6 separate regions of the Homo sapiens genome follow, and regions 1, 2, 3, 4 and 6 are each linked to region 5. The links are contacts of gene promoters, found by promoter capture Hi-C in blood cells and fetal thymus (Javierre and others, 2016). All regions are on one chromosome and are shown on one strand. The core of a region is centred on a gene start or on the middle of the fragment in contact, and the rest is flanking DNA. Distances in the headings are between cores, read along the strand shown.

What was found. Contacts are between HindIII fragments. The CHiCAGO score rates a contact against its expected background, and 5 or more counts as called.
Region 1: a contact is called between a fragment that was not itself captured here and the fragment with the promoter of MYO1E in region 5, in 3 of 17 cell types (naive B cells, M2 macrophages and total B cells). The highest score is 5.8, in naive B cells.
Region 2: a contact is called between a fragment that was not itself captured here and the fragment with the promoter of MYO1E in region 5, in 2 of 17 cell types (M2 macrophages and M1 macrophages). The highest score is 5.6, in M2 macrophages.
Region 3: the fragment with the promoter of BNIP2 here is called in contact with the fragment with the promoter of MYO1E in region 5 in 1 of 17 cell types (monocytes); the score reaches 5.2 in monocytes.
Region 4: a fragment that was not itself captured here is called in contact with the fragment with the promoter of MYO1E in region 5 in 2 of 17 cell types (M1 macrophages and M2 macrophages); the score reaches 6.4 in M1 macrophages.
Region 6: a contact is called between a fragment that was not itself captured here and the fragment with the promoter of MYO1E in region 5, in 1 of 17 cell types (total B cells). The highest score is 6.3, in total B cells.

What each region holds. Positions count from the first base shown.
Region 1 is chr15:59,085,833-59,090,700 of GRCh38, forward strand. It overlaps RNF111 (ring finger protein 111), which reads left to right. Exons shown (of 14, transcript NM_017610.8): 11 at 3,835-3,927. Among named protein-coding and RNA genes, the nearest start is that of CCNB2, 17 kb to the right of the region's middle. The HindIII fragment of the contact is 1,282 bases long and covers 2,183-3,464 here.
Region 2 is chr15:59,105,558-59,109,876 of GRCh38, forward strand. CCNB2 (cyclin B2) reads left to right here. Exons shown (of 9, transcript NM_004701.4): 2 at 1,765-1,893; 3 at 2,000-2,113. Among named protein-coding and RNA genes, the nearest start is that of CCNB2, 2.6 kb to the left of the region's middle. The HindIII fragment of the contact is 1,818 bases long and covers 1,478-3,295 here.
Region 3 is chr15:59,688,070-59,692,288 of GRCh38, forward strand. BNIP2 (BCL2 interacting protein 2) reads right to left here and starts at 1,251. Exons shown (of 10, transcript NM_004330.4): 1 at 1,066-1,251. RefSeq lists an enhancer at 957-1,605 and a silencer at 1,019-1,528. The HindIII fragment of the contact is 5,510 bases long and covers 1-2,161 here.
Region 4 is chr15:59,001,242-59,006,028 of GRCh38, forward strand. The region is part of intron 1 of RNF111 (ring finger protein 111); the gene reads left to right. Among named protein-coding and RNA genes, the nearest start is that of RNF111, 16 kb to the left of the region's middle. The HindIII fragment of the contact is 981 bases long and covers 840-1,820 here.
Region 5 is chr15:59,370,405-59,374,650 of GRCh38, forward strand. It overlaps MYO1E (myosin IE), which reads right to left and starts at 2,467. Exons shown (of 28, transcript NM_004998.4): 1 at 2,094-2,467. The coding sequence starts at 2,096. RefSeq lists a silencer at 1,412-1,731 and enhancers at 1,747-2,250, 2,251-2,755. The HindIII fragment of the contact is 5,897 bases long and covers 1-2,574 here.
Region 6 is chr15:58,926,541-58,931,190 of GRCh38, forward strand. The region is part of intron 2 of SLTM (SAFB like transcription modulator); the gene reads right to left. Among named protein-coding and RNA genes, the nearest start is that of SLTM, 4.8 kb to the right of the region's middle. RefSeq lists an enhancer at 842-1,341. The HindIII fragment of the contact is 351 bases long and covers 1,832-2,182 here.

The DNA of each region.
Region 1 (4,868 bases), core at 1,574-4,073, 280 kb before region 5:
TTCTAAGTATTTTATTGGAAATACTTCACTATATTAATATAGATGTTTTAATAGAATTTGAGAGTAATCTTGTTAGCTAAAATTGTGCTATAAAAAGGTATTAGATGTATTAAAATCTGCACGTATAATTTGCATCATAACATGTACTCTTAATGTACGACATGACAAAAAAGTGTGGGGTTTTTTGTATACCAAGATACTCTTAATCCACTGTCAGGAGTATACTGTGCTTCAGTTATTTTGCCGTAAGTGGTAATAGATCCGTTCTGATGCAGTCATACTTGATTTTCTTTTTTCTTTTTTTTTCGACAGAGTCTCACTCTGTCACCCAGGCTGGAGTGCAGTAGTATGATCTCAGCTCACTGCAACCTCCACCTCCTGGGTTCAAGTGATTCTCCTGCCTCAGCCTCCCAAGTAGCTGGGATTACAGGCACGTGCCACCATGCCTGGCTAATTTTTGTATTTTTAATAGAGATGGGGTTTCACCATTTGGCCAGGCTGGTCTCAAACTCCTGGCCTCAAGTGATCTGCCCACCTTGGCCTCCCAAAGTGCTGGGATTACAGGCTTGAGCCAGGGCACCCAGCCTGATTTTCTAATCTGCAGAAAGATTATACTAATTCTCTACATCTGATTTAAGCAGGTTCAGATTTTGTAAAGTGCTAAAGGACAAGTTCAGCAAAACATACATTGCGTTTGCTGTTTGTATTACATACTTGTTATATAAATGGTACAGAAAAGGGAATAGTTTTGTGTTGTTGTGGGTAGAGGCACTGCAGGAAAGCTTTCAGAGAAGCTTTCTGGTACATGTGACTTCTAAGCAGACTGGATTATGGAATGGTGCTCTTGCAGAGGTTACAGCATGTAAAGATGTAGCAAATAGCACAAGCACTGGGAACTCCAAGTAAGCTGGTGTTTCTAATTTTAGGAGTGAGGGTCAGGCAGCAGTGAGAAATAAAACTGTTCTACCAAGAAACTGGAACTCAGGAACCATTGAAGGGGAAATGTCCTGATCAAATTTATGATTTTAGAGTTATTTAATCAGATTATAGTTAGATCACCTCCTCAGTTATGTGGAAAAATAGATGTAAATGTGGGAAACCAGTTAGGACATTATAGTAGAAGAGGTAAATATTGATGAATGCCTGAATGAAGGCAATTGTAGTTGGCATAAAAATGATGATACACATTTGAGAGATATTTAGGGTTTGGGTGAAGGGGTTAGGTGAGTTAGGTCTTGGATGTACTGAATCTCTATGAAAGTTGAATGTCCAATAGGAAGTTAAGCCTGTGGTCTGGATTTCCAAAGATATTTGGGTTAAAGATATGTTTTGATCTGTCAGTATATGGAGGTAATGAATCCATGGAAGAGGATTAGGTTTTCAGGAAAAATGTGCAGAGTGACAAGAGGGTGAAAAAACCTTAGAGAATGACAATACTGTATTTAAATGATAATACTATGCTTTGAACAAAGGATTCTGAGAACTGGCTTGAAAAGTTGAGAAACACAGTTAAAATAATATCAGAAAATACAGTTACCACTTGAACAATGCAGAGGTTAGGGGTGTTGACCCTCCTCACAGTCGAAAATCAGAGTATAACTTTTGAGTTCCTAAAATCTTAACTACTAATAGTCTATTGTTGATCGGAAGCCTTACTGCTAAAATAAACAGTTGATCAACACATATTCTGTATGTTATAAGTACGTGATAATGATAGTCTACAATAGATAATGATAGTTTACAATAAAGTAGAAAAAAATGTTAAGAAAATTATAAGGAAGGGAAAATACATTTACTATTCGTTAAGTGAAAGTGTATCATTATAAAGGTCTCTTTCCTTATTGTCTTCACATTGAGTAAGCTGAAGAGTAGGAAAAGGAGGGATTCATCTTGCTGTCTCTGGGGTGGCAGAGGTGGCAGAAAATCTACATGTAAGCAGACCCATGCAGTTCAAACCCATTTTATGTTGTTCAAGGGTGAACTGTAATATGGTCAGTATGGTGTCATCACAAAAAAATAAAGTTTGAAAAGTATTGAAAGCATTTGGCAGTAGAGTGGTTATTGGTCTTTTGTGTCAGAATGGTTCAGTAATGGTGAGTGATGTAGATGGGGCACCTCTTAGATTACGTACGGTAAGGAAGTGAAAACATGGAGACAGTGAATATAGCCTTCTTGCTTTATAAGCTTGGCTGTGAAGGGAAAGTGAAGGAAACCCCTATTTGGTTGGCAGTAATTCCAGGATTAGTAGAGAATTTAGGTTTGGAAAAACTTAAGGTATTTTCAGGTTTAAGACAGAAAACCATTAGAGAGGAATTGTTTGAAGATATTGAAGAGAGAGAGGCTTGGTGGGAAGTAGTGAAGTAAGCATGACCCAGGGTGAACAGGTGAAGGGAGGAGTGGGTGATAAGGATTGAGTTCGAATAGGAGAAAAGCTCATCCATAAAGGCTGGAGGAAAGAGACTAGGGAGGAGAGGCTTTTCAGGGTAAGTGAAGATTTAGATAATTTGGGATGCAGGAGTTCCTTTCCGATTTCTTTGAAGATGTTTAGGAGGTTGGGTTATCTGCTGAGTAGTAATGATCTTGGTTATAAGAAAAGTTGTAAACAATTTAAGTAATAGGCTATTGAAGGTTAAAAGTTATTGCTTATTTAAATTCTTTTCCACATATGAAGTGTCCGTTAAAGCTATAAATTCTGCTTAAAGTATGTTGTGATTCAGTGTAGGCTAATTAAAAAGTAATGTCAGAGATTTATTTATAAAGATGGAAGAATGGTGCTGTATCTCAGAAATGCCCTTTCCTAATACTCTCACTATGCATGGCAGTTATGATCTATACAGTTGCTGCAAACACTGAATTAGCAAATATGGGACCCTTGCAAACCTCTGTTCACAACTAATCAGTGTATAACCTTTTTTATGTGTGTTTCTGCTTAAAGACAACTTTAAAAAATATTGTAGAATCATTAACATTGAACTCATAGCCAACAACACTGTAACTCATGCGTGAATGAAACTTATTCTCTCCATAAGGTGTATGACAGCCTTCTTTGCTTAGGAACACTAGACAGCACTTCAGCTCTATGCTTGGGTGCCATTTTAAACAACACAATCACCAACAAAAAGCACAAAACTGTGAAAAACGTGGCACTAAACAGTCTGCAAACAAGACACTGGTTTATAGTAGGAGCTCAAATACGGCAGAGCCCTGTTCTACCTCAGCTGGGAACAGAGTTGCATGTTGGGCAACTGCAATTTTTTGCCACCGGTCATATCCACGAATGACTCTGAAAGCACAAGTGTTGATTATGGGGTTACAAGTAAATTTTAGCCTGTGGGTCAGTTCACACATATGTAATCCATAAATAATGAAGATTGACTGTAACTAACAAAAAATTAGAAAACAGTGTTAAAAGTTTCCCTAATAGAATCAAGCAAAAAAGGCATAGGGTACTTTGGCTGTTAGGAAGCTTAACAGAAGTGAAGTAAAAAACTTATCTTGAAGTCGAATTTTGTTGGAAAATTGTGTGCATTTTTTGTTGTTGTTTTAATAAAGCTCTCTGAAATGGACAGGATCTTAAGACAATTTTACTCTTTTCAAGTTTGAGCTACTAAGAGCCTCAGGCTTAAGTTTGGGCATTTTGGAGAGTTAGGTTATATTTTAACAGAAACCTAAACCTGTTACAGAATGCTTAGTTGGAGTTATGTATTCTTATTGAAGTCAAATTTTATGAGCAGTTGAATTGAAAACATTGAGGGTCTTGAATTATTCAATGTTAACAGTAAATCACAAGTCTATTCTTAAAATTGATTTAGCCTATCTCTTCTGTTGAAATAGGTTCCTGATATGGCAGGCTATCCTCACATCCGTTACATTTCATCAGGATTGGATGGAACATCATTCAGAGGTCCTTTCAGGGGCAATTTTGAGGTATGTAATAAAATAAATGAATATGTTTGTCACAGTATCTTTAATGCAGATTGAGTATATATATACTACTATACACAATTGTGTAGGACTGCTACAGTGGCTGGGAATCACATGTGATTTTCTGATGTTGCTTCTGGGAGTTACAGAAATATTTGTAAGTATTATTAATCTTAGGGTCAAAAGTTACCGAAATATTTAAAGATGAGTAAATGAAAATATCTAATATAGAAGAATATAAAAATGTATTAAATCAATATAAATGTCAGATATATAACTATACCATTAAATGTGGTGGGGAACGGAATGTTTTTGACTCAGCTAAATTTTTAGAGAAATCGGTAGAGAAAAAGAAACTTAAGTAATTCCCTTTGTAGCTAAATGTCTTGTTTGAATTTTCAGGAAGAACAAATCATTCGAATGGGATTTAAAGTTTTGTTGTGGTTTGTTTTTTTGTTTGTTTGTTTGTTTGTTTGTTGTTGTTGTTTTTTTAGATGGAGTCTTGCTCTGTCACCCAGACTGGAGTGCAGTTGCACAATCTCAGCTCACTGCAACCTGCGCCTCCTGGGTTCAAGCAATTCTCCTGCCTCGGCTTCCTGAGTAGCTGGGATTACAGGTGCCCGCCACCACGCCCGGCTAATTTTTGTATTTTTAGTAGAGATAGTGTTTTGCCATGTTGGCCAGGCTGCTCTTGAACTCCTGACCTCAAGTGATCCACCCACCTTGGCCTCCCAAAGTACTGGGATTACAGGCGCAAGCCACCGCACCCGGCCCCCGTTGTGTTTTTTTTATGTCAGTTTGGAAGTTGGAGTCATTGTGACTTAGAACTATTGTTTGATTTGGTTCCTTAATTTACTAGAATTATTTCATCTTCTCCATACATACATACATACTGACTTACATAGTACCATGTGATAATATTGTTGTAATTTATAAAGATAACT
Region 2 (4,319 bases), core at 1,137-3,636, 260 kb before region 5:
AGTGAGCCCCCAGAGCACTAGGCCTAGTACTCAGCGAGCGATCCCCGAGTGCTCTTCATTGCTAGAGAGTTATCTACTTCCACGTTCCTGGGATTTCCCTCCCCCTTTCTTACAACTCCTTGCCAACTAAGGGACCTGTGATGGCGGCTGGGAGGAGGACTGGAAGGGTTCTGTAGGCAGTAAAGTGTACGGCGTGTTTCATCAGGCAACTGCCAGGCTGTTTTTCAGATTGTTCACATTTCTTTTTGTATGAGTTTCCCATTTATTTCGGCACGCTAAGTCTTCCATGCTACGTTCACTAATAAATGGGTTTGTCCCCTTAAAAAATTAATTTCTTTACTCAAATGTAACAGAGGTTTTTGAATATAATTTGGACCAATGTGGCAGACTGAGAGAAAAGGGTCCAAATTCATTTATTTCATCCTTGCAGAGATCAAAGTGTTATGGTGTTTTGGGTATTTTTCCTGTGGGCTTGAATTGTACCGGGACCTACTTTTTTCCTTTGCCGAAAGCTAGAGGGCCCTGACACACCTGAGTTCCATCATCTTGGCTATAAGGTTAGATAAAAGCTGCCAATTTTCCTATCCAGATGAATTTAAATTGAGTCACATTACCAGGCTTCTACCCATAAGCATTACATTTTCAAACACTTTTTCAGATTGGCAGTTGCTGCTGGAAGAAATTGAAGTGTGACTTTTGAGAATCCTAATAGATTGAATACATTTAGCATTTAATTAATATCCTTTTGTGGATCTAAGTCCAACTGACAAGTAATTTTTTATAATAATGTATTCTATAACGTTATTTAATAGTCAAAACCTTTCTGTTCAGGGAAGGCTTGAGTTTCCCTGGCCCCTCTCTCTGCCTGGTAGATCCACTCAAACCCCTTGTTGGGAGTTTTATTAGAGTCGGGACCCTGAACTCTCAGGGATAGGACATGCTGGTTTTTTGCTTTTTTCTTTTTTAATGAAATGTTTATCACTTCTATAATAAACTTTTTTTGGTATGAGTTGCTTTTCCTAGCAAGTTTTATTTCCAAGCACATTATGTCTAAAGCAGGTTAAGGTCAACTGACAATTTTTATTTCATACAATTCCAACCTTCCCTGAGTTTGGGAGCTAAAACTATATTACTCAAGAAAACTACTTCCATTCTAAATGTCCTTAATATAAGAGAAAATCCATTCTATGGCAACCTCATTTTAAAAAGCTGTAGTTCTAAAAGATCATGCATACAGGAGCATTTCTTATTTGTGAAATGGCATAAGAATCAAAGCTAGTTTAGGTTTTAAACATCTGGTTTTTAAACAACCAGACCTATTATTAACTATTAATATTATAGCTTTATTATTTTTCATCTTAATTTACTTTTTACCAAGCTCTGTAAAGGAAGGTTTTTAAATATATGCCTTTAACTTGCAGGGATCTCTAACAAGTGATATGGGTACTATATGAGAAATAATCATTAAATACTAATAAGCTTTGAAGTTCTCTTACAGGCCCACTTGAATACTCAGAATAGCTTTGCAAGGTTAGTGGGAGGATCTTTATTACGGATAAAGTAGATGGGTGATTTGCCTAATTTAGAGTGATGTTATTAATCACAAATAGCATTTTTAGACTTCCTGAAATGTACCTTTTCCATCTTGCAAATAGATCTTGACGTATTGTCCTTTCCCAAAGCAATTCTAAATTTGAGTATCTAACATTAGCAAAGTATTTCAAATTCTTTCAAGGTTTCATTACTTTTTTTTTTTTTTTTCAGGTGTCCAGTGATTTGGAGAATATTGACACAGGAGTTAATTCTAAAGTTAAGAGTCATGTGACTATTAGGCGAACTGTTTTAGAAGAAATTGGAAATAGAGTTACAACCAGAGCAGCACAAGTAGCTAAGGTAACAATGATGAAGACTGAATGTGAATACAGAGGCCGATTCTGTATAGTGCTGAGTCCCACAACGCTGGCTGTCTTGCGCTATTCATGTTTCTTTTTCCTTATAGAAAGCTCAGAACACCAAAGTTCCAGTTCAACCCACCAAAACAACAAATGTCAACAAACAACTGAAACCTACTGCTTCTGTCAAACCAGTACAGATGGAAAAGTTGGCTCCAAAGGTAGGAAGTTCTGAATTTACAAACGTATTTAATGAGGTAGCCTGTTTTTAGCCAGACTACAAGGGTGCCTTTATCATTGCTGTACCTTCTAACGAACATTCATAGCTGGAGCTCTGCTTTGAAGCAATAGTGTAGGAAATGAGTATATACACCTTTTAACTTAATAACATTATGACCTTGAAGCTGGGCATGGTGGCTTATGCCTGTAATCTCAGCACTTTGAGAGGCTGAGGCAGGAGGATCGCCTGAGGCCAGGAATTCAAGGCTGCAATGTGCTATAATGGTGCCACTGCACTCTAGCCTGGACAGCGGAGCAAGACCTTGTCTCTGAAAAAAAAAAATAAATATTACGACCCTGAATAATAAAGTTGATTACCTTAATACCCAAATAAAGGACAGAATGGTTCAGAAAATTCATGGAATGAGTGAGATTTTTAGGGGTAGAGAGAAGATGATAGCTGACAGGAAAGGGCACGTTTGTGGAGAACAAAGTAGCAACAAAGATCAAGGTACCAAAGCGGATATGGACCTATAATCATGTCCTTTCGTTAAGGAGTCTGAAAGACTTAACTGAGTCAGGCGGCTTGAGTGAGGAACCAGAAGATAAGGCTGGGAAGAAGGTTGCAGTTGGATTTGAAGGACTTGGAATTTGGATTTTTATCCCATTAGGCTTGAGGAAACAAAGTTTTGAGGAGTACCGAAATGATGAAAACAATGTAGGGAGGTAAGTTAGGAGGTATTGCACTTATCCAAGCAAGAGCTGATGAGGGTCTGGAGCTAGCCCAGATCTTCCCTAAGCGCCTACCCATACACCAGTATCAATAGTGGGTATGAAGAAACAACATCAAATGTGTTAGGATGTCTCAGAATGTCTTTCATCTTGTATTTAGGAAAGAATACTTTGGACACATGGCTTGCACTGCAGGAGTGGTATCCTTACCCACTTGGATATTAAATAAACCATTTATGCAATAAATGAACAAAAAGTAGGAAAGTCAGGAGAGGGCGGTAGCTTTGGTAAAGGTATCCTGTTTGGCTTCCGATTTGTTGAGGTAACCGAGGGACATCTGCCTGGAAATGCAGTTGGAAATGTGGCAGCAACATCTGAAGGCAAGGAACAGATTTGTCAGCTTTCTTCACAGAGATGATGGTTGAAAGCTCTTTGCTCTTTATGAGAACTAAAGCTTAGAAAAAGTAGTTGAGATGGGACTTCATTTAAAAAGCCTTCCCTAGAAGGTTTCTATAACAGTGACCTCCTGAAAGCCAAACCCAAAGGCTGGTTTTCAGACCTTGATCTCTTAGCAGTTGTGCAGTGTTTTACATGTGTAATGGTTTGAATGTGGTTCCTCCCACATCGCAGGAGGGCGATTTGGCAGTATATGTATATATTTTTGGGGGGGGACGGAGTCTTGCTCTGTCGCCCAGGCTGCAGTTCAGTGGCTCGATCTCTGCTAACTGCAACCTCCGCCTCCCGGGTTCAAGCGATTCTCCTGTCTCAGCCTCCCGAGTAGCTGGGATTACAGGTGCATGCTACCATGCCCAGCTGATTTTCACTATGTTGGCCTGGCTGGTCTCCAACTCTTGACCTCAGGTGATCCACCTGCCCCCGCCCCTCAAAGTGCTGGGATTACAGGTGTGAGCCACTGCGCCTGGCGGTAGTATATTTCAAATGGTTATTCTCCATACCCAGTAGCTTTGTTTTTTATCCAAAGAAAATGATCAGAGGGATAATCAAGTACTTTTAGATAGTGCTATGATGAGTGTCTCTTATAGAGTAGAGAAATACCCTAGTTAAATCCATTTAAGGAAATACTATGCAGCCATAAATATCATGTTTTAGTAGAATATTTAAAGGCATCAAAATGCTTGTAACATTAAGTGGAAAAATCAGATTATAACAATATATAAACAGTGCAACCCCAGATTTGCTTTTAAAATGTACATTTGTATGCAGAATATTGATGGTAGTTATTTTTGAATATTATGTTGGACTTAAGATTGACTTTCATTTTCTTCCTTAAAACGTCAAACTTTGGCCGGGTGCAGTGGCTCACGCCTGTAATCCCAGCACTTTGGGAGGCCGAGGCGGGCGGATCGCGAGGTCAGGAGATCGAGACCATCCTGGCTAACACAGTAAAACCCCGTCTCTACTAAAAATACAAAAAATTAGCCGGGCGAGGTGGTGGGCGCCTGTAGTCCCAGCTAC
Region 3 (4,219 bases), core at 1-2,500, 320 kb after region 5:
GTTTGCAGAAGTGGATCTGTCATACTTCCGGTCTAAGCCCAGCAGTATTAGGCTGCACTAGAGAATATGAAGACTAGGAATAGAGTTTAGAGAAAATGTAAACCAAAAAGAACTAAGAATATGTGCAAAATGATCAAGAAACTAGTCTGCAGGGGTAACTTAATTGGGTAAGGTCAGTTGTAACTTTGAGGAAACATCCATTTACAAATTACAGAATTTGTTTCTACAATTGCAGAGATTCCTATAAAATGTTAGAAAAACTACATTTAATTGAAAATACGAAATCAGGTATTAGGTGAAATAGAGATCCTAATCAAGAGAAGGTGAGAATGAAAAAAGCAACACTAAAATGCAATCACATAGTTTATTCAATTAAATAAATAGGAGGCACCGTAACTATCTTGATGCAACACCGGAAAAGCTGTTTCGTCAAAGAGCTCACAAGACACAGACAAGTAACTCTCCAGCGGCATGAAATGCATCCAGAAATCCAAACCATTTTGCCAGGTATTTAAACAGAAAGGGTTGTGTCTAGATTCACGCGGGGACTCGGCTTTTGACGTACACACTCTGTATTTGGTTTAGCGTACTAGGGAAGATCTATTAAAGCCCTGATTACTTATGCTGCTTCCGTGTCTATTCCCCGCGGTTACGAGGCATACCAGAAGTCCAAGTTTCTTTGTTCTGTACCAGGACGGACGCTGGTCATAAATACTGAACCATCGTAGCCCAGCCACTTCACCCACACCAGGGTAAAAGGGTGGGGGAGCGGAGGAGGGGCAAGGTTCCATCCCGAGCACAACTACCAGAAACGGAAAAGCGACGGGGTGGGGGGCCAAACTGCCAAATACAAACAGGACCCAAGCCAAGGGCGGGGACCTAAGCAGGGCGGGGATCCAGGAAGCACCTCCCGAGCAGGTTCTATGGCTCCCCCTACCAAGGGTAACTCTCTGGGTTTCCTCTCCCCGGACGTCGTGGGCACGCGCCCGACAGACTTTCGCCCCTAGGCCGGTTCCCAGTCCAGCTCCGGAGCCACCGTGCCGAGTTCTCCCAGGCCGCACTCACCCCGGAGGAAGCCTTGGCCCCCTCGTCCTCTTCGCCCCTCCAGGCCGGCGACGTGGGGCTGACGGCCAGGTCGCAAAAAGCAGGGCCGAGCGGAGCCCGCTCCCCTCGGTCGGCGGTGGAGACCCCGGCCCAATCCCCCGGCCGCAGCGGTACGGCGTCGGCGGCAGCAGCTGACCCGGACACAGTGAGAAGCCCCGGCGGAAGTGATAACATCCCGACCTCCTCCGGGCGCGGCAGCCGGCGGTGGAGGCGGCGGGGGCGTGGCGGCGGCGGAGGCGTGGCGTCTTCTTGAAACCCACACAGCATCCCCCCAACCCCCTCAGACGTCACGGGCTAGCGCTCGCGCCTGCACTCGCGGGGTCGGCCTTCCTTGCCTGTGGGCGGACCCGTCGCGTCGACTCCTTATTGGTGGCGTTACTACGCCTCAAGGCGTTTCTTCCCTCTTTGCTGTTCGCAGGGACGCTGCCTGGTAGTTTCAGTTACTTTTGTTTTCTTTCTGCCTGCCTTTATTGATCATTACAGTAGGTGAAATTATCGATATCAATAATAATATTGTAATACAATAGGTGCAATTATCAATATCAATATTATTACAACAGGTGCAATTATCAGTATCATTACAATAGGTGCAATTATCAGCGATCAATAATGTGAATTATAAAATGGATGAAATAAGGGGAGGAGGTCGGGCGCGGTGGTTTACGCTTGTAATCCCAGCACTTTGGGAGGGCGAGGCGGGTGGATTACCGGAGGTCAAGAGCTCGAGACCAGCCTGGCCAACATGGTGACACCTCGTCTCTACTAAACAAACAAAAATTAGCTGGGCGTGGTGGCGCGCGTCTGTAATCCCAACTACTCAGGAGGCGAGGGCGGAGGCGGAGGCGGAGTTGGAGTTTGCAGTGAGCCGAGATCGTGCCATTGCACTCCAGCTTGGGCAACAGAGCAAAAACTCCGTCTCAAATAAAAGGAAAAAGGAAAAAAAAAAAAAAAGAAAAAGAAAAAAAAGAAATAAGGCGAGGAAAAATATCCGAGGCATCATTTTGGGGAGTTAGGCCTCAGAAGCGACCTTAGAGTTTGGTAATATTTGAGTGTGAAAAGCTTTACAGCAGTGCTTCTCTTCACTGGGGGAACGGTCGGTTTATTTTTTTCAATTTTCAATTAGTTTTTGACAAGTTAATAAAACAGAAAAATGAAAAGACATACAAAGTCCAAGTCAAAACTTTTTATCGTTAGAGTTAACAGCCATAAAATTACCTGCAAAATTGACATAGAGTTTTCTACTCTCTCTCTGTGAACCATTTGCAAACAGTTCTCAGAAGAGCCCAGGTCTATAGACCATGGTTAGAGTACTCAAGGTAAACTACTCAAATTAGACCATACTCAGCTGTAGAGTTTCAACCAAATGAGATTTGTTTGGAGAACATCATAGTCTCTCTCAGTTGGGCGTGCTGGCTCATGACTGTAATCCCAGCACTTTGAGAGGCCGAGTCGGTAGATCGCCAGACCTCAGGGCAACATGGCGAGACCCCATCTCTTAAAAAAAAAAAAAAAAAAAGAGACAGAGAAAGAAAGAAAGAAAAAGAAGCAAAGAGAAAGAAAGGAAGAAAGAAAGAAAAGAAGAAAATTAGGTGGGCTTGGTGGCATGCACCTGTGGTCCCAGCCACTTGGGAGGCTGAGGTGGGAGACTCTCTGGAGCCTGGCAGGCGGCGGTTGTAGTGAGCCAAGATCGCGCCACTCCACTCCAGCCTGGGTGACAGCGAAACCCTGTCTTAAAAAAAAAAAAAAGTCCCTTTCCAAAGTTTCATCTGATAAATCCATAGAAAGGCTCAGCATCAAGTATTTGGGTGATTCCATTGGGGTACGATCAGGCCTGAGGGGAACAGAAAAGCTCAAAATTTTAAATCATTGACTAAAAATGCAGCATTCTGCCTGGATTTCACATTGCTTTGGCAACATTTACCCACCATTGGTAGATTAAAGTCCGTCTCTTTGATAAAATGGGAAGAAAATAGTACCTACCTTATAGGGTTTTTGTGAGATGAATTCATATATATGTATTAGGACCTTGGTTGTCATATTGTAATCACATTTAAGTATTAGGTATTCTTTTTATCCTAGTCTAGCAATTTCACTAAATAGCTAGTAGAGAAAACAAAACTGATCAACAGAGCTTTAGCTAAACAACTACTTGGGCCAAGAAATTTCATCTTGATTTACAGAAGTTTTTGTAGTTTCATACTTTGCTTCTTCAGTTCTGCAATGTGCAGAATTCCCCACAGGGTGGCAGAAAATCACTGGAAATCATATATAGTTATGTGATTTCTTTTTTTTAAGATCTTCAGTTCCTTCTTCATTTTAGTAACTTTATTATTTAATAAGCTTGATCAGTGTTTGCTTTGGTTTCGAGTAAGCCATCCTATTACTTATCTTTTTATCCCTATCTTGTTAATTATCCATACTTATTGTTGAAACATTACAAACTACAAGTAAGCCAAAAAGATAATTATTATTAACATATTTATGTATAGCCTTTCAGATTATATATATATATATATTCACACACATATATATTTTATGTATAAATTGCACATATAAGTCTTTATAAAAATCAGATAATGTACTTAGTGGTTTATAATCTCCATTTTCTTCTTTTCATTTAAAATATGAGCTGGGTGCAGTGGCTCACACCTGTAATCCCAGCACTTTGGGAGGCTGAGGTGGGTGGATCACCCGAGGTCAGGAGTTCGAGACCAGCCTGGCCAACGTGGAGAAACCACGTCTCTACTAAAATTACAAATATCAGCTGGGTATGGTGGTGGGCACCTGTAATCCCAGCTGCTTGGGGGTGCTGAGGTAGGAGAATCACGTGAACTCAGGAGGTGGAGGTTGCAGTGAGCCAAAATCACACCATGCACTCTAGCTTGGGCAACAGAGTGAGACTGTGTCTCAAAAATAAATAAATAAATAAAAATACAGATTCTGAGGCTTCACCCTCTACAGTCTATGGAAAGATATGGGAATCTATATTATAAAAATAAATAATTAAAATATATTATGAACTCTTTTTCAAGTCAATAAATACATTCCAATGCTATTATTTTCATTATGGATAATGTATATATTAAACAATCCTTTATTGAACTTTTAGATTGTT
Region 4 (4,787 bases), core at 80-2,579, 370 kb before region 5:
GTGGTCTCTGAGAACAGAGGTATGAAGGGTTCATGTTCTTCAGTTATATGAAATATTTACATTGCCTTTGATAACTTCTTAGCCATTTTTTACCTCTCTTCTCTTTTCTGGATTTCCTGTCAATCAGGTAACAGGATTCTATTGCCATCTCTACTTTGCCTGCTATTAGTTCCTATTTTTGTTGTTGATTAAAAAAAAATTCTTTTTACTATCAGTTTAGTGGGGATTGGAGGGAGATTTGAAATAAAGGTCTTGTATAACTTACCATGTTTTTAAAAAATGTGAACTTTTGCTTTTGATAATCATGACAGTTTTACCAGGAAAAAGTTATATTAGTGACATGGAAATGGGCTCTCCACATTTGGCGAATAGGTTCACTTTAGGAAGACTAAGTCTATTTTGACAGCTAGGTTCTTTAATAGAAAATACTTAATACTTTTATTAAGTGAAGAAAATCATGTGATATAAGATTTGTTACAGAACACCTACAAAACATACATTATCATGGGATTTTATTTTATTTTTTATGAAATCATGTTTAAAGAACTAAGTACAGTAGTCCTCCCTTATCCATGAGGGATACAGTCCAAGACCCCCAGTAGATGCTTAACAGCCACAACATGCATACCTATTATAAAGTTTAATTTATACATTGGGCAGAGTAAGACATTAATAGCAATAACTAATAAAAAAATTTATAACTATATTTAATAAAAATTGTGTGAATGTCATCTCTCAAAATATTGTACTCACCTTTCTTGTGATGACGGAAAATGATGATAAAATGGCGAAATGAGGTTAATGACATGGGCACTGTGTAGGCATTCATAAGCGGTTAAAGCTTGTGAGCTGTTTATTTCTAGAGTTTTTTCTTTAATATTTTTGGACCATGGTTGACCATAGGTAACTGAAACCGTAGACAGTAAATTGTGGTTAAGGGGAGACTACTGTATAGTGTTGGTTAAAACTCACCATTCTATTTTCTTGACTATCTTCCCGCCATTTCTCTGATGTATCCTTATCCTTATTCTCCACTTGAAATTTTACTTTTAAAGATCAACTCTTAAACTTCTTTCAGGTTTTTCCTTTAGAATTAATAGCTGTCCCTTCCGTTTTCCCATGGTATTTGGTACTTTGTTATTTGTAGCAGTTACCATGCTTTATTAGAACATTCTTATGTGAGGGACAAGTTCCTGAAAATCTGCATGGTAAATACGGGAAGTACGGTTGAGTAACATATGTAATAATCTTATGTAAAAGTAGTCATGGGAACTGAAGTTCTGAGTGAAAGCCCTCATAACTGTGCATTTAATTAAAAAAAAAAAAAGAGAGAGAGTGACCAAACTCAACAACTTAGATAGTCATTTAGATCCAGGCTTTGCTATCAGGTCTTAGGCAAGTCACTTCTGTAATCTTCAGTTCCCTATAGTTCTTAGTAAAGATAAAATGAAATAAAAATGTGGCACACAGTTCCCTACAGGCTCTACCTGATCTGGCCCTGACTACTTCTGATGTCATTGTGTGCCATTTCCCTTTCCTTCCACTTCCCTTCTTTTAGTTCTTTGCACCTGTTAGGCATATTCCTGTCACATAGTCTTTCCTATTTTTTCTCTCCCAGGAATACTCTTCCTCTAGAATTGTGTGGCTTGACTGACTAGTGGCTAGTTTCTTGTCATGATTCATGTCTTTAGCTTCTTAGAGAGGATCCTGTTGATGGTCAACCTTTACATTTGTTTTGTTTTCTTTCTTCCTTTTTTGTGATAAGATCTCATTATGTTGCCAGCGCGGGATTGCAGTTGGCTATTCACAGGTGCTATTAAAGCTTACTGCAGCCTTGAACTCCTGGCCTCAAGTGATCCTACTGCCTGTTTAATTTTCTTTTTTCTTTTTTCGAGACAAGGTCTCACTCAGTTTCGCAGGCTGGAGTGCAGTGGCTCAATGTCAGCTCACTGCAACCTCTGCCTCCTGGGCTCAAGCGATCCTCCCACCTCAGCCTCCTGAGTAGCTGGGACAGGCATGTACCACCACACCCAGCTAAGTTTTTGTAGAGACATGCTTTTGCCCTGTGGCCCAGGCTGGTCTGGAACTCCTGAGCTCAAGCCATCTGCCCACCTTGACCTCCCAAAGTTATGGGATTACAGGTGTGAGCCGCCACACCCGGCCTTTTTCTTTTTTGAGACAGAGTCTGGCTCTGTTGCTCAGACTGGAGTGCAGTGGCATGATCCCTGCTTACTGCAACCTCCACCTCCTAGGCTCAAACCATCCTCCCACCTCAGCCTCTCCAGTAGCTGGGACTACAGGTGCGTGCTACCACACCCAGCTAATTTTTTTAAAATTTTTTGTAGAGACAGGGTTTTGCCGTGTTGCCCAGGCTGGTCTTGAACTCCTGAGCTCAAGCGATCTGCCTGCCTCAGCCTCCCAAACTGCTGGAATTACAGGTGTGAGCCACTGCACGTGGCGTATTTTCTTAATAGCACGTGTTTCGCTCTAAAATTATCTTGGTTTTTTGGTCTCATTTGCATGTAATTTCCATGAGAGCAAAGACTTTCTATGTCCTGTTCGTGGCTGATGCCAGTGCCTAAAACAAGTGCCTAGCTCATTATAGGCTTTCAATAAATATTTATTGAATGAGAACCATAAATGAATAAGTGATAGCTAATGTATTGTCAGTGATACTGTATCTTCTAAAATATTAATAAGCTACTGTAAAATTAATTTCTCTTTCCTGATTGACTTTTCTTGGTTTTGTTCTCATTCCAGATGCTTGGGATGGAAGAAGTTTGAGTGACCTATCCTGTGTTTATCCTCCTTGCCGTAGCTGAGTTGATCTTTTTGAAACCCTCTTCCCAGACTCTTGGATTTATTTATTTTATTCCAGTGTGAATGCATGTTTTTTCCCTCATAGATGGCAGTTCTGGATTAGCAGTTTTAAGGTCTCAACTTTGTTTTTAGTTATCTTCCTTTAACAAGCTTCAATTTAAAATACTCCTTCTTTTCTCTCCCAATTATCTTTACTGATCCTTAGTTGTCTCTTTTTATTATCTCCAACAGAAGGAACTTGCTGTTTAGGTTTACTGAAACTAAAATTCTGAAGATTGCAAAAAAGTATATAGGTAAATGTGTGTAGATGAGACTTAACGTGTACAAGAATTCACATTAGGATTAAGGTTACTATTTTTATCTAGAATATGAAATTTGTTAGGAAAGGGTAGCACCTTACTATCTTTTTATCACCTTGATCAGTGACGTACAGTAAAAATTCAAACCATAAAAGGTTTGTTAAATAAAGTAGCTGACATCAGTATGCAGGATAATGAATTCTTGGTTTCCCCAAACCAGTATTCTAGAGTTGTTTAATATCTTGGTGTTTTTTGTTTCTTGTAACAAGAATTTTCACTTCACTGTCTGAATATACTGATCCAAGGAAAGCAAAAATGGCATTTAGTCAAAGATAACCTTGGAAATCCCTAAAGTTGCCCAAATATACATTATAAATATGCAGTCTCTGGAAGTCTAGCACTTCCCGTTTTCCCTCCACTATTGGAATAAATCATGTTTTCATTGTTAAATATCAGAGAAAGAGTAGGTTTGTGTATATGGCCTATAATATGGGAAAAATAAATGGCTCTAAATATTAGAATCTGACAGCATAGTAAGATGCTCACATTCTGAGAGACACTTGGGAAGTGAGACCCAGTGGAGAGCAGCAAAATTTAATCTCCTATTTTGTGTTGATTCTAGGCATATAATCAGTGAGCAGAAGGGCAAGCATAATCTCCTACATGGTTTAAATTATTTTTTTCTTGTCAAGTTCACTTTATGGGCTTGATGTCTATCTAGAGGTGTTCTCCCAAATTCCAACTTTCAGTATGCCTATACTGTCAGCCATTAAAGTGTCAGTAAGTCTTCCTGGTTTTCCTCTTACAACTCAAGTTCTCTTTCTTTAGTACATACTGTTTGTTTATTTGTCGAGACAGTCTCACCTATGTTGCCTAGGCTGATCTCAAACTCCTGGGCACAAGCAGTCCTCCCTGCATGAAGTGCTGGGATTACAGGCACGAGCCACTGCACCCAGCCTCTAGAACATAGGCTTTCATTACTATTCTCCAGATTACATATTTTGACTGACCTAAATCATATATGTAGAGTAAAAACAAATTTTATCTAAATAAACTTATTGGACTTCATTCAAAGAGAAATTGTTTCCTTGGGCAGTTTTGCTCCCAACATTAGATCCCGCATTCTCAGGACAGCTGTCATCTTTTTAATTTAGTTTTCTGATTTTATTTTTATTTATTTTGTTACTCCAACCTTTGCTTTGGCCTTTAACAACTCAGTGTTTTGGTCTAATCTTCAAGAGGAATTTGAGGTTCACTTGAATAAGTTAGACTAGTTTGAGGTGGGTGTAGCTAGAGGATTGAAGTCGTACCAAAAAAAAAATGTATGTATATGTATATGTGGTGATCGTGGGTAGGGGGAAGAATTCAGAGGGAAGAAGCTTGTGGACGTCTTTGCCTGGACGATTTCTAAAAACTAGCTGACTCGTCATCTTTAAAACAACAACAATAAAAGCTATCATATGCATATGTTACTTTGTTTAATATTTACAACAACCCTTTGTGGTAAATATTTTCATTTTTCAGATGAGGAAATTCAGGCACAGAATGATTAATAATTTGCTAATGAGTCACAGCAGTGATGGGGATGTGGAGATTTAAATCAATGCATTTTGAGTTGCCTGAGCAAAGAATTCCAAAATTTAGGAAGTCACTATTTCTGTATTTCCT
Region 5 (4,246 bases), core at 1,217-3,716:
TCACTCTGGATCCAGTAGATCTATCAATGGCACATCTCCTGTTTCAGGACAGCCAGCTGTTTCAACTTTTCCATCAGTGAATTGTGACTTCAGCAACCATATCTGATGCACAGATAGTCGCCTGGGGGCACACAACATGCCCATCTGTGCTGATGGCAGGGAGCCCATCAATAGGGAAGTCACACACTGTCCTCAGATAGAACCACCTCTTCCCTACAGCATGCCTTCTTCGCATGCATTTGACCAACCCTCTACTTCATCTGCAATGGGGCTGAATTAAGCATGGTATCACAGGTTTCGGAAAAGGCAACCTAGAGTATATTTCAGTCCATTCAGCATGAAAAATGAGTTTAACTGAGGGGAAGTTAATTTCCTCAAGGTACCACTCAAGTACTTAAATTCAGTAAGATTCTTTAAGTTCTTGACATAAACACATTGATTTTTTTAAGAAATATTGACCCACGGAAAATGATTACAGCAATTCTCAAGTACCAGGACTATCACACTGCTTCAAGGGACCAGGTGCCCAGTGAGGTAGCTTCACCCAAACACATGCCCAATGGGAATGGTTCTCTGCTGGGGTGAGGGAAGGGGTCCAAAAGTAACGTAGAGTAGACTGACTTCTTAAACCTTAAAACTAGAAGAGGAAATGTATAGACAAAGTGTTCTCTTAGATGGGGCAAAAGTGACTTAATTTTGGACTATGTAAAAAGAAAAGGCTTTGGCCGAGGATGCCTTGAAAGGTTTCTCGTTGATGTTTGTTTGTAATCATTCTTTGGAATAAACAGCACGGGGCAAGGGGGCTTCTGAGCTTTGTGTGCAGGTTTCGATGGGCCTCTGCTGCACTTCCCTCAGGCTGCTCACCGGGATATCGATTTTTTAATTAGTGTTGTGCTGGTTATCATTTTGACTTGGCTTCTCTTCCACAGCCATTAGAAAACAACAGCAAACCAGAAGAGGACGAGATAATCCACCTAAGCAGGACTACTTGAAAAGAAGCAAGTGTGGAAACTATGAAGCCTTGTAATAGATTTTTTTTTTTTTGATGAACTGCCGATCTCTTCAAAATAGAGTCCTTGCTTTCGTGCCCCGCAAAGAAAAGTACACCACGCCAAAGCCCAAGGGAGGTGGCTAAGGTTATACAGGGAGGGAGGGGAGTGTAGCTGGACTGGGGAGTTGGAATAGCAGAAAAGTCACAAGTCAAAGAGGCGGCCCCTTCCACACATTCCCAAAGTGCCAAAGGGAAAACAGCAACAAACTCGAAACTCGCGAGGGCGTCTTCCCGTGCGAAGCGTCCCCTGGATCCCCGAAAAGCCCCGATCCCCTCGCGCTTGGGAAGGGGTGGGGTCCTCTTCAGGAGGTGTTTACTTGGCGTCCGGGGCGCGGAGACCCTCGGGGCCGGCGCCCGGCACAGGTCCGGGGCGGCGTGGTTGCCGCCCGCGCCCGAGTCTCCCTGGCTCTTGACAGCCCGCCGGCCGCCAGGTGCTCGCCCTACCTGGCGCCCCCGCCTGCCTTTGTGCGGCCCGCGCCGCCCCTCGCCAAGGCGGGCCAGGGACCGCCCCCGCCCGCGTGCCGCTGCCAGGCGGGACAGCTGCGGGCGCTGCCGGGCAGCGGAGCGGCGGCGGGGAGGAGAGGGAGTCGGCGCGAGGGTGCCCGGGGCGGGGCGGGCACGGCCGCGGGGAGGGCAGGGGACGCCGCCAGCGGCTGCGGCGCGAGTCTCCGAGCACCTCCCCTGCCGGCTGCGCCCCCCACGTCCCAGCAGGAGGAGGGGACCCCCTCCCGCGCCGTGCCCCTCGCAGCCGATGCGCCCACACCCTGGCTTCCGACAGCTGGCAGCCATAGCAACCCGGCCACAGAAAGTTTCGCGACGCAGAAACCGACTTGGAATAAAGTTTTCCTTGGCCCCTCGCTCGCTCTCCCCCGGCCCGGGTTTACGGAAAGCGGCAGGAAATCAGAGCTCGCGACGTGCCGGCTCCCGCGTCCACCTTCTCCACCCCTGGCCCCGGCAGCGCGCCCAAGGTGGGTGCACCACGCCGGGGTTTCCTGCCCCGTCCCCGGGTCCGGCGTCCTAGGACGCGGCGCGGCCAACTCACCATGGTGACTCGCGCCGCGGTCGCGTCTTCGCCGGGTCCCGCTGCCGGGGAACTGGGGCTGGAACGCAGTCTTCTGGGCGAACTTCAAAAGTTGGTTCCCCTCGCCAAAAACAGGCTCCCGACACCCAAGCACTCACAGGAGCCAATGGGAACCCAGAGGGGACTCCATCCAGGCGGGATTGGCGGTGCTAGGTGAGGGCGAGACGGCGGCGACTTAGCAGGCGGGGCGCATGCTGCGGAGGGCAAGAGTCCACTCGTACTCGCCGGTCGCCGCCGGCCCAGGTGAGTCCGATGCGCTCGGAGCGTCCGCCTCGCTCCCCTGCCTCACTCCTCTTTCTTCGGCCACTTAATCCGTACTCCTCTGGCTGAGTCTCGGCTCGGGCCGGGCAATCTGTCCATAAATGGAGAACTCAGCTCAGGCCTGACCAATCAGGGTTTGTTTTCGTAGCGTCACTCCTCAGGGAAACCGTAGTAGCCAACAAGCTTGGAGCTGCTGGAGTTTCCAAAGATCTCTGGATCCTGTAGTCCTCCTCCCGCGCCAGCCACCGAAGAACGCTGCGGACCCAGCTCGCTCCTGGTAGCAAGACCCGAACTGTAAGGAACAAAACCCTCGTGAAAGAGGAGCAAACCTTTCACTTCGCTGCGTTTTAAGACGAAAGTTAGGGTGGGTTTCGCTTCCAAGTTGAAGGGGCATGATTTTCCCAGAACTTTTTTTTAAGAAGGAAATATTTTATCAGCATAAAACATCAGAGTCGTGGCAGCAGCCCAAAGGAAATCCTTTTTCTTTCCTACGTCTGGATTGTGAGCAAAGTCAAAAATATCATTTCCCCACCCCTCCTTTTACCTGAATTTCCTTGGAAAACAAAGGAAGACTTCCGGCTGCTTTTTCTTTTCTTTTTTCTGTTTTTCTTTTCTTTCTCTTTCCTTTCTTTCTTGTTTCTTTTTTGCACGTTTTGATGGCAGAAAAGTTGTTGCACGTGCAGTGGGCAGAGGGAAGGAGAGAGGAGAGATAGGTGGGAAGAAACCCCATCCAACCTCAGCCAACACATCTGCTGAAAACAATCAGAACTGTAAAAATGCATTATTCCAGACTGTCGAATATCCAAGGAGAAGATTGGGGTGGGGCGGGGTGGGGGGAAGCAGAATCTTAAAATCAAGGTAGGGAGTTTGATTTTATTGTTCTGGAGGCTGAGGAAGTAAATTTGGTGAGTCTTAACAGGCTGCCTTCCTGGAATCTGTAGAAGATAAAATTGGTAAACTTCAGGGCATAGAGAAACTATGAAGCATAATGATATTATGATACTTTCTGAAATTTGGTTGAGGCAGGGCGCTGTGGCTCACGCCTACAATCCCAGCACTTTGGGAGGCTGAGGTTGGTGGATCACGTGAGGTCAGGAGTTTGAGACCAGCCTGGCCACCAACACGGTGAAACCCCTTCTCTACTAAAAATACAAAAATTAGCCCGGCATGGTTATACATGCCTGTAATCTCAGCTACTCGGGAGGCTGAGGCACGAGAATCGTTTAAACAGGGGAGGCGGAGGTCGCAGGGAGCCGGGATCGTTCCACTCTACTCCAGCCTGGGCGACAGAGCAAGATTCTGTCAAAAAAAAAAAGAAGGAAAGAAAGAAAGAGAGAGAGAGAGAAGAAAGGAAGAAAGGAAAAAGAAATTTGGTTGTAGCTCTTCACTTGACTATCTGAGCATAGAGTTAGAAAGGGTATTAAACTTTATCTTGTCTAAAAGGGTAAACAAAATGTTACAACATGGATGAATCTCGAAAATATCGTGTTAAGCCAGGAGCAAAAGACCACATATTATATAATTCCATTTAAATGAAAGTTGAGGATAGGGAAATCTATAGAGATAAAAAGTAGGTTAGTGGTTTGCTAGGGGCTGGGGGAGAGGGGAGATGGAAGTAATTGCTAACAGGTATGCATTTTCCTATTGAAGTGATGAAAATATTCTGGAATTAGTGGTGATGATTGTACAAGTTTATGAATATACTAAAAACCACTGTGTTATGCTTTTTAAATGGGTGAGTCTTATGGTACGTTCATTATATCTCACTTTTAAAAGTTGAAAGAAAATCATATTGTCCAAATTCTTGTAGTAATCATTTACATAGTTTGGCAACAATATAATCGAATGTGTGT
Region 6 (4,650 bases), core at 757-3,256, 440 kb before region 5:
ATGCTACATATGATAAATTCAGGGTGGTGGGATTACGGGTAATCTTCACTTTTTTGTACTTTTCTGGATTACCTTTTTTTTTTTTTTTCTTTGAGTCAGGGTCTTGTTCTGTCACCCAGGCTGGAGTGCAGCAGCACCATTTCGGCTCACTGCAACCTCCTCCTCCCAAGTTCAAGTGATTCTCCTGCCTGAGCCTCCAGAGTAGCTGGGATTACAGAACATGCTACCACACCTGGCTAATTTTTGTATTTTTAGTAGAGAGGGGGTTTCACCATGTTGGCCAGGCTAGTCTCGAACTCCTGACCTTGTGATCCACCCACCTCGGCCTCCCAAAGTGCTGAGATTATAGGTGTGAGCCACCGCGCCTGGCCAAATGTATGTTTTAATGGCTGCGATAAAAGGGCTAATTTTGTGAAATGAAAATGACATATACAACCTCTGAGGTTGGACAGTATTCCAGCAAGGTTCAGAGGCTTTTCAACACAGCATCAATGTGGTAAAGAATAAAAGGATGATGCAATGATTCATGTGTTCTAAAAGTAAGTATATTTTACATATCAATGTGTAAGGAGAAGCCATTATGCTCTTGAGAGAGGCACCTTTAAAAAAAAGATAAAAACTATTAATCCCTGATATACCTGCTTCTTACAAAGAAATATGCAATTAAAATAGGCACCAAAAGAGATATTTCTTTTTTTTGTTTGTTTTCTGTTTTTTGAGACCAAGTTTCTAAAGATGAACAGATTATCTAAAGATGATGATCTTGTTGCCCAAGCTGGAGTGCAATGGCGCAATCTCAGCTCACTGCAACCTCTGCCTCCCAGGTTCAAGAGATTCTCCTGCCTCGGCCTCCCAAGTAGCGAGGATTACAGATGCGAAACACCATGCCCAGCTAATTTTTTGTATTTTTAGTAAAAACGGGGTTTCACCATGTTAGCCAGTCTGGTCTCAAACTCCTGACATCAGGTGATCCGCCCACCTCAGCTTCCCAAAGTACTGGGATTACAGGCGTGAGCCATGCGCCTGGCCCAAAAGAGGTATTTCTAAAAGCAGTTAAGAAAGCCCCAAAAAGGCCCTCAGTATTCATTCAACAAATATTTTTTGAGCACTTATTACGTGCCATGCTCTACACCAGGCATTACAGAGACAGAGGTAAATGAAAAACTATGTCCTGGCCTTCAGAGCTTTCAGCCTTTCAGGTACCTAAGAAATATCTATAACAATTATACGCCCAAAGTCCTCCTCAATGCCACAGTTCTGATTAAAGTGTTACTTAACATCTGAACATACTACAGCTGGAGGAAAAAAGCTAATTACAGTACACTATGATACTGTGTTATATGAAATGTGCTTTATATGGCTGATTACTACATTTAATTGATACCAGTTTTAGAAAGCTTTACAGAGTAAACATGTACTTAATTATAAATATGTAGTCTGTGGTATTTTCCACAAAAAATTATACATTAGATGTTTGGCCAAACCTATAACCTCAAAATATATTTGTTTCTATAGAAGAAAAATCAGATTGTACACATCATTTTTAGTCTTTTTAAAGCTGCCAGGTATTGCAAATTAGTTTTAATGTCGGTAAGTATTGCATTACATATAGTTCTAAATACTGTACTGATTAACCACATCACTTTTGCTGAAGTTAATTGGTGACTTTAAAGGTTGAAATTTTAAAAGAAAAGGATATGCCAGCATCAGGTAAACCAAAAGTCTTTAAATCTATAATCTCTAAAACAACCTAATGAGAAGTTAGCTCTACCTGTTTAACTACTTTTTAAACACACACCCAATTAATATAACCGTAAACTTCAATGGGTGAAGCTTTCTCCTAAGTTACTTATTTAAAAGTTCATAACAAAGAGAGTGTGAAGACTCAGGAAAGCCATTCTAAGATACAAACATCTACTCTATTAACTACATGTAAAGGAATTTTATAAATATGTTGATATAAATGTCAGAGCCCACTATAACATTATCAACATTGTTTGTGCTTGTAATAGCTGCATTTAAAAAATATTCTAGGAGAAACTTAAAAATGTAGGTTCCTTTCCCTCTAACCTCTCTAAATAGAATCATTTTAACATACATTTTTAAAAGAAAGTTACCCTATAGTTATTTTATAAAAGAATAAGCTCAATGTTTCACCAAAGTATTTTTTCCATACCTATGAAGCTTCTCGTCATTTAACTTTTATTCACTACCTTAATATTGTCATAAGAATCATTTCTTTTCCTGACCAGCTATTATATATTATGTCTCGCTGATGTCTACATAATTACCTCTACGTAATCCCCTTCTTGGCACTTTTCGTTTTCTAATAATTTGTGCTGAAGAAAAACGATACTGATTTCCTATGAGCTTACCTGTTGCTTCCTTAAACATCATTTTAGTTAAACAGAAAGCATTTTCTTCTCATTTTTGTCTATATAATTATTAAATTTCAGAACTAAAAGAGCCTTACAGGGGACCTAGTAAAATTTCCAGTTTTACAAAAGAGAAAACAGGCGCACTGAAGGAAAAGTGGCATAACCAAGATGAAATTATTTTCAATGTAGATACCAGTAAGTAAAACAAGATCTGGCAAAAAGAATTGAATGTAGTAATTCAGCAACTTGATTGAAAAACTGATTATCAGCCAGGTGCGGTGGCTCACTTTGGGAGGCCGAGGCGGGAGGATTACCTGAGGTTGGGAGTTCAAGACAAGCCTGACCAACTGGAGAAACCCGTCTCTACTAAAAATACAAAATTAGTTTGGAGTGGTGGCGCATGCCTGTAATCTCAGCTACTCGGGAGGCTGAGGCAGGAGAATCGCTTGAAACCGGGAGGCGGAGGTTGCAGTGAGCCGAGATCACACCATTGCACTCTAGCCTGGGTGACAAGAGCGAAACTCCATCTCAAAAAAAAGAAAAGAAAAGAAAAACGGACATCACATTAAAACAATATTTAATATATCCTTGGTTTTCAAATCTGTTCATTATTGATATTTTAATAAGTTTCCCTATACAAATTTGGTTTCTAAAAGTTATTATTTAAACATCTTAATTCTTTTTTAAAATAGAGATAGGGTCTCACTATGTTGCTCAGGCTGGTCTTGAACTACTGGACTCAAGCGATCCTCCCACCTTGGCCTTTTGGGATTATAGGCATGAGCCACTGCACCCGGCCTAAAATAATCTTATCACTTTGTAAAATGGCAGAGAAAACATCTCTGCCATTTTAGAACTCTGCCATTTTAGAAGGCTAGAACTGAGTTGGTATGACGCATTTAAGCAAAACTGGCTCTAAAGATGATCAGTAGCGCTTGGAATTTGAGACAAGAGCATTCTTTAATAAGTAAACTGGGTTCAAAATCTCTCATATTAAAAATAATAAAAATAAAATAATTGAATCAATAAGCATCTTTATTGTAAATTAATTCAAACTGTTTGGAGTTGGAGATTTACATTATATTCTTTGTAATTCACAAGATTTTCATAACAATGATAGCCGGATTTCAAGAAGACTAGAGCTTTTTGTCATGCATCTCTTAGAATGAGGCCTGCTACAAACAAATGATTGAATGTTACAACTTCTTTTTTTTTTGAGATGGGGTCTCATGCTGGACTGCAGTGGAGTGACCTTAGCTCACTGCAACCTCCACCTCCTGGGTTCAAGCGATTCTCCTGTCTCAGCCTCCCCAGCCTCCCGAGTAGCTGGGACTACAGGCACGCGCGCCACCATGCCCAGCTATTTTTTTTTTTTTTTTTTTTGTATTTTTAGTAGAGATGGGGTTTGGCCATGTTGGCCAGGCTGCTCTCGAATTCCCGACCGCAGGTGATCCACCCGCCTCAGCCTCTCAAACTGCTGGGATTACAGGCGTGAGCCACTGCACCCGGCCCCCAAATGTTACAACTTCTAACTGAATACCTTAAGACCTCTTAACATCAGAGTTATGGAATAAAGTTCAAGTATAACCCATACAAAGAAAAAAATTAGCAAACATACTGATAAAAATAAATAATGTTTACTTATTTAAAATGTTGTGGTGGCACATGCCTGTAGTCCCAGCTACCAGGGAGGCTAAGGTGGGAGGGATCACTTAAGCCCAGGAGTTTGAGGCTGCAAAGAGCTAGGCACCACTGCACTCTAGCCTGGGCAACAGAGCAATACCCTATTAAAAAATATATATATATATCATATATGATATATATACACCTATATATAATCTATATATCATATATATAGATATATATACCTGTCATAAAATGTATTGAAAAAACCCTTAAAATTTTATATTGCTGAAATTATTTCTAATAATAAGAGATAAATGATGTTCCTAGTCAAAACTGAAAAAGGGATATACAGAGAAATTAAAAGTAGGTGAGAAAGGAATAAATCATGTTTATTTTCAATGCTAAAATAATAGTCAACTCAAACAACCTGGGACTATGATTAATACACAGTACCTGTCAAACTAGCACAGCATGCTAGGTAAAAGATATGAATCAAAACTACTGCAAGACACATGGTTAATTCCTGATATACTTATTTCTGAATTTCTATCGTTTTCCATTTTGAAATAGCCTCTGGTTTGTTGGCAGTCTTCTCATGACAAGCTTCTTTAAATACAGAAAATGTATCTCTCAAAGTGATACACTG